2 separate regions of the Homo sapiens genome follow, and region 1 is linked to region 2. The links are contacts of gene promoters, found by promoter capture Hi-C in human tissues and cell types (Jung and others, 2019). All regions are on one chromosome and are shown on one strand. Each heading gives the region's core, a stretch centred on a gene start or on the middle of the fragment in contact. The rest is flanking DNA. Distances are from core to core; before and after follow the strand shown. Region 1 has its middle 22 kb from the start of LEFTY2. Region 2 holds the start of EPHX1 (epoxide hydrolase 1).

The links. Contacts are between HindIII fragments. The study calls those that stand out against the background at their distance.
Region 1: a fragment that was not itself captured here is called in contact with the fragment with the promoter of EPHX1 in region 2 in 1 of the 25 tissues and cell types used here (psoas muscle).

What each region holds. Positions count from the first base shown.
Region 1 is chr1:225,961,566-225,964,413 of GRCh38, forward strand. It overlaps the pseudogene NDUFA3P3. Among named protein-coding and RNA genes, the nearest start is that of LEFTY2, 22 kb to the left of the region's middle. The HindIII fragment of the contact is 6,601 bases long and covers 1-2,848 here.
Region 2 is chr1:225,808,699-225,811,479 of GRCh38, forward strand. It overlaps EPHX1 (epoxide hydrolase 1), which reads left to right and starts at 1,426. Exons shown (of 9, transcript NM_001136018.4): 1 at 1,426-1,471. RefSeq lists a silencer at 1,384-1,603. The HindIII fragment of the contact is 8,152 bases long and covers 1-2,781 here.

The sequences.
Region 1 (2,848 bases), core at 104-2,603, 150 kb after region 2:
TCTGCCAATAACCTACCTCACCTACCTACTTAGAAGCTTAGGCAAGTTATTTAACCACTCGGACACTCCGTTTGATCAACCATGAGATGTGAGAACATCAACTCCATGAAGTGTGGGGATGGAGAATGAAGCAAGGCACCAGAACCTGTGGTCCAGACCCCACCCGCCACATCCCCTAGAGGGGATGTCTAGGGGAAGAGTCCTATCCTCCCTTGGGATGTCTTAGAATTTTTAGTTTCCTTTCTTTCCTTCCTTTCTTTCTTTCCTTCTTTTCTTTTTCCTTCCTTCCTCCCTCCCTCCCTCTCTCTCTCTCTCTCTCTTTCTTTCTTTCTTAGATGGAGTCTCACTCTGTCGCCCAGGTTGGAGTGCAGTGGCGGGATCTCTGCTCACTGCAACCTCCACCTCCCGGGTTCAAGCAATTCTCCTGCCTCAGATTCCCGAGTAGCTGCGATTACAGGCATGTGCCACCATGCCCGGCTAATTTTTGTATTTCTAGTAGAGATGGGTTTTCTCCATGTTGACCAGGCTGGTCTCGAACTCCTGACCTTGTGATCCGCTCGGCTCGGTCCCCCAAAGTGCTGGGATTACAGGCGTGAGCCACAGCGCCTGGCCGGAATTTTTAGTTTCTGAAGGAAGTACTTCTTGGCTGTATAAGCTGTCTTCATAAACCCACACATTCAAAGAAATTTCCTTCTGAGCACGCCAGTGAAAGAGTATTCGTGAAAAAGGTCTTGCACACTAAAGTGGTCAAGCAATGTCCAAGGGTGGGGGATAGTTACCGGGAAGAATTGTGTGAGGTCTCTCGGGGTTCCTGTCCCACCCCAGGCTGTAGCGGGGGAAGGAGGAAAGAAGACGAAAGGGAGGACTGGGGAAAACGGACTCAGAGGACCCACCCACCTGCAGCTGCCCAGGCTCCTGGGCAGTGCCCTCCAGGAAGCACAGAAGTAGGGGCTGGAGGCGGGCTTCGGTGGACCCCGAGCCCGGGCCGGCAGCCAGCAGGGGTCGCTGCAGACATGGGAATCACGGTGCTGACCGTGCCTCTGCAGCGCTGTCTTCAGGTGCTTTTGCTGAACGGTCATATCTTCTCTAAACCCAGGGGGTGCAGAGGGTCCTCCCAGACGAAGAAACCGAGGACAGAGAGGTCAAAGGACTTGCCCAGAGTCCCTAACTGGTTAATGGAAAAACTCCTGCTCTTCTAACTTAACGTCAAGCCGGAGGATTCAGGCAGCGACTATGAGACGCCCTGTAAGAGAGGAAGGGTTAGGGCAAGAGCTTATCAAATGTTTAAAAATTATATATTTTATAATAATTCGGCCAGGCACCGTGGCTCACACCTGTAATCCCAGCTCCTTGGGAGGCTGAGACGGGCGGATCACCTGAGCTCAGGAGTTCCAGACCAGCCTGGCCTGCCTCTCCTTTCTCTGTAGTAGAGAAACTCCGTCTCTACTAAAAATTCAAAAATTAGCTGGGTGTGGTGGGTGCCTGTATTCCCACCTGGAGGTGGAGGAACGAGAATCGCTTGAACCCGGGAGGCGGAGGTTGCAGTAGGCCGAGATCGCGCCATTGCACTCCAATCTGGGCGACAAAGTGAGACTCTGCCTCAAAAATAATAATGGTAGTAATAATAATAATAAAATTAAAAATTAAAAAAAATCTTGAGCAATGAAATGAGTGTATTTGTTTCCCAGAATCCTCAGCAGTACAGGGAAGTTTCAAAATTAGCTTTCTTGTTTTGTTACCGGTATAACAGCTATAATATGACTTCTCAGTATTGATTTAGGCTATTCTTATTTACAAAAACTTGGTAATTAAACTATATTAAATTTAAGAAGTCCTGTTCCTCAAAAGACACCAATAAGAATGAAAATTCAAGCCAGAGTGTGGGAGAAGATATTCATAATTCATATACCCGACAAAGGACTTGAATCCAGAATATAGAAAAACTTGCTAAAAGTCAATAAGAGGCTGGGCGCAGTGGCTCACGCCTGTAATCCCAGCACTTTGGGAGGCCGAGGTGAGCGGATCACCTGAGGTCAGAAGTTCGAGACCAGCCTGACCAATATGGTGAAACCCCATCTCTACTAGAAATACAAAAATTACGCAGGCATAGTCATGGGCCCCTGTAATCCCAGCTACTCAGGAGTCTGAGGTAGGAGAATCTCTTGAACCCAGGAGGCAGAGGTTGCAGTGAGCTGAGATCGCACTACTGCAACAGAGCGAGACTCCATCTCAAAAAAAAAAAGAAAAAAAGTCAATAAGAAAAGGACAGTCAGACAATTCAATGAAAAAAATGGCAAAAAAAAAACCTCACAAAATGGGCAAAAGACTAGAATAGGCACATGGTAGAAGAGGATATCCACGTGGCCAATCAACAGGAAAAAATGCTTGGCTTCATTAGTCATCAGGGAAATGCAAGTTAATACGTGATGTGGCCGGGCACGGTGGCTCATGCCTCTATTCTCAGTGCTTTGGGAGGCTGAGGCGGGAGGATTGCTTGAGCCCTTCAAGACCAGCTTGGGCAACATAGTGAGATGAAATCTCTAATCACACACAAACTCACACACTCCCACTGTAATAAATATATATATATATATATATATAAAGCCGAGACCAAGATGGTTGTGAGACTTGGCGCCTTCCTCAAGAACTCCTGGGCCAAGGAGCCAGTGCTGGTGGTCTCCTTCGTCATCGGGAGCCTCACTGTAATTCTGCCCCCACTCAGCCCCTACACCAAGTATTCCATCATGATCAATGAGGCCACACCCTACAACTATCCAGTGCCCGTCCACGATGATGGGAACATGCGGACATGTGCAGCCACCCCCAGGGCCCCCAGGGCCCCAGCTTG
Region 2 (2,781 bases), core at 176-2,675:
TTCACCATCACTGCAGTTTTAAGAGTAACGAATTTGGGTCCCCTGGTGAAGTGGCCAGAGGCAGAGCTTCTGTGTGAACTATTTGGAGGGGAGGGGAAAGAACTCTCCCAGACTGCAGGTTCTGAAAGGAATACAGAGATGTCAGAGACTGCAGTTGCAAGAGAAAGCTTTTATAGGAGGGTGTAGAATTAAAGGACAAGAGGACTCTACATGTGGATGGAGGAGGGCACCCTGTCCGGCAGTACTGCAAGAGCAAAAGTTTGGAGGTGGGAGTGAGGTGAGTGCGTCTGCCGGCCAGAATTCTTGGGCCAGGGTGAGCAGAAAGGTTGGAGGCCAAGGGAAGGTGGGTGGTGGTGAACCTTATCCTGAAGTGTGCAAGGTGACAGTCAGAAGCTTAGAACTCCAGCCACGGGCCCTGCATGTGGCCTCCTAGCTGTAGTCTGTCCACCGAGATCGTGAGGATGCTGGTGGTTGAAAGAACTGCACCTCTGAGCAGGTGAAGAGAGAAGCTAAGGAGGGGTGATGGCAGAGGCGATGGGACAGGCTTTCTAACGATGAGGGGCTGGGGATCAACGCTCTCACGGAAGCTAAAAGAGCCCCAGCAACCACCCGCCTGGGCCCTGAGCTCTCTCCAAAGCGGGAGGGGATTCACTAAGAGGTTGCTCCCCTGGCATTGAACTCAGCATCCTATACTGGTCCTCACCATGAAGACCCCCAAGAGTGCTTCAGACCATTGCTTCTCACATTCTCTGTATAAAGACACTAATTTGTTTTTAGATTTCCAAGCATGTCACGGACCAATATGTTTGTTAAATATACTAAGAATGAATTGCTAGAAAGATGAAATTAAAAAGACATACACCGCCAGGTGCAGTGGCTCACGCCCATAATCTCACCACTTTGGGAGGCGGAGGTAGGTGCATCGCTTGAGCCCAGGAGTTCAAGATCAGCCTAGGCAACAAAGTGAGACCCCCGTATCTACAAAACTTAAAAAATTAGCCAGGTGTGGTGGCGCAGTCTGTAGTCCCAGCTATTCTGGAGGCCGAAGTGGGAGGATCGCTTGAGGCTGCAGTGAGCCGAGATCGCACCACTGCACTCCAGCCTGGGTGATAGAGTGAGACTCTGTCTCCAAAAAAAAAAAGGACATACATCATGCAAGTTTGGATTTTTGTTTTTAGATTCAACTGACGAAGTTACGGGATCAAACTGCTGTAGGAGCTGCCAAACGCTTCTCTCCATTTCTGGCCGCGGGGCCGCGGACCGCCCTTTAAGTAGCCCGTTTTATCCCTGGCAGAGGTGGAGCCTTAGGCAGGCCTAGAGACTTTCCCGGGTCCTCCAGGCCGGGGAACGCCCCGCTCGGAGGCCGGGCTTGGGCGGAGACTGCGCCGGGGCTGCTGAAAACTAGCCGAGGAGAGCCAGGGAGCCGGAGAGATCGCGCGCCTGCCGCCGCCGGAGCCTGCGAGCCGAGACCGTAAGCGCCCGGGGCCGGCCGGGCCCGCACTCCCCGGACGCAGACGCGGTTCGGGCTCCGCGCGGGCTCGGCCGCCGGGGTGGGCGGCGGGCCGGGGCGCCGAGGGGTCGGGGCTGCGGTCGGCCCGCAGGGGTGCAGAGGGACTTGTAGTTGGTCCGCCCCCAGCTCCTGCCCCGGCCAGGAGACTGCGCGTGCCGCCTACTGGGGGAAGGAGCCTGCAGGCGACCGCGGACTTCTCGCAGGGAATTCCGCGTCCCAGACTGTGGGCGGACGCCGCAGGGAGGGAGGCTCGCGACCCCGAGAGCGCACCGCGTCCCCTGGCCTGGGCGAGCTCTGCTTCCAGGGCCGTGGCTCGCTCGGCGGTGAAATGCACTTAATTTGTCACCCAAGTCGGAACACTGATTTTCATGCGCGTCCGTGTGAAGAGACCACCAAACAGGCTTTGTGTGAGCAACATGGCTGTTTATTTCACCTGGGTGCAGGCGGGCTGAGTCCGAAAAGAGTCAGCCAAGGGAGATAGGGGTGGGGCCGTTTTATAGGATTTGGGTAGGTAAAGGAAAATTACAGTCAAAGGGGGGTTCTCTGGCGGGCAGAGTGGGGGGGGTCACAAGGTGCTCAGTAGGGGAGCTTTTGAGCCAGGATGAGCCAGGAGAAGGAATTTCACAAGACAATGTCATCAGTTAAGGCAGGAACAGGTCATTTTCACTTTTGTGGTGGAATGACATCAGTTAAGGCAGGAACCGGCCATCTGGATGTGTAGGTGCAGGCCACAGGGGATATGATGGCTTAGCTTCGGCTCAGAGGCCTGACACTGATCACACCTTTTAGTTGAAATGCGCTTTCATCTCCATCTGCTGCCGCAGCCGCCGCCCGGCACCCCCTCGCTCTGGTCTCGGGATTGAAGGCCAGCCCTCTCCTCTTGTAGAACAGGAAACTTGCCCGGGAGTTCACCTTGTAGTTGAAGCCAGGGAATGTGGTCAACCTGAGCAAAAGCGCCGCGGAGACCGAGTGGCCGCCTGCCTCCCTCCCTGGCAGATGTCGGTTTTCTCTGAGCTTCTGGCTCCTTCCTTGCCCTGGCGGCTCCCGAGATCTTGGAGGTGGGGTGCCTAGCAATGTTGTAATCCTAATTTTGACTTTTTTTTCTTAAAGTTGAATGCCCCCTCCATAGCCCACCTCCCATTGTTTAAACTTCAGGTTCCGCAAAGCCTGGATCCGCCCCTACAGGCAACACTCGTTGTCCTGGAAGTTCTGTGAGGGCTCAGCTTGTGGCTGGAGGTGGGAGGTGAGGGGGACCCATGCACTTGGCAGGC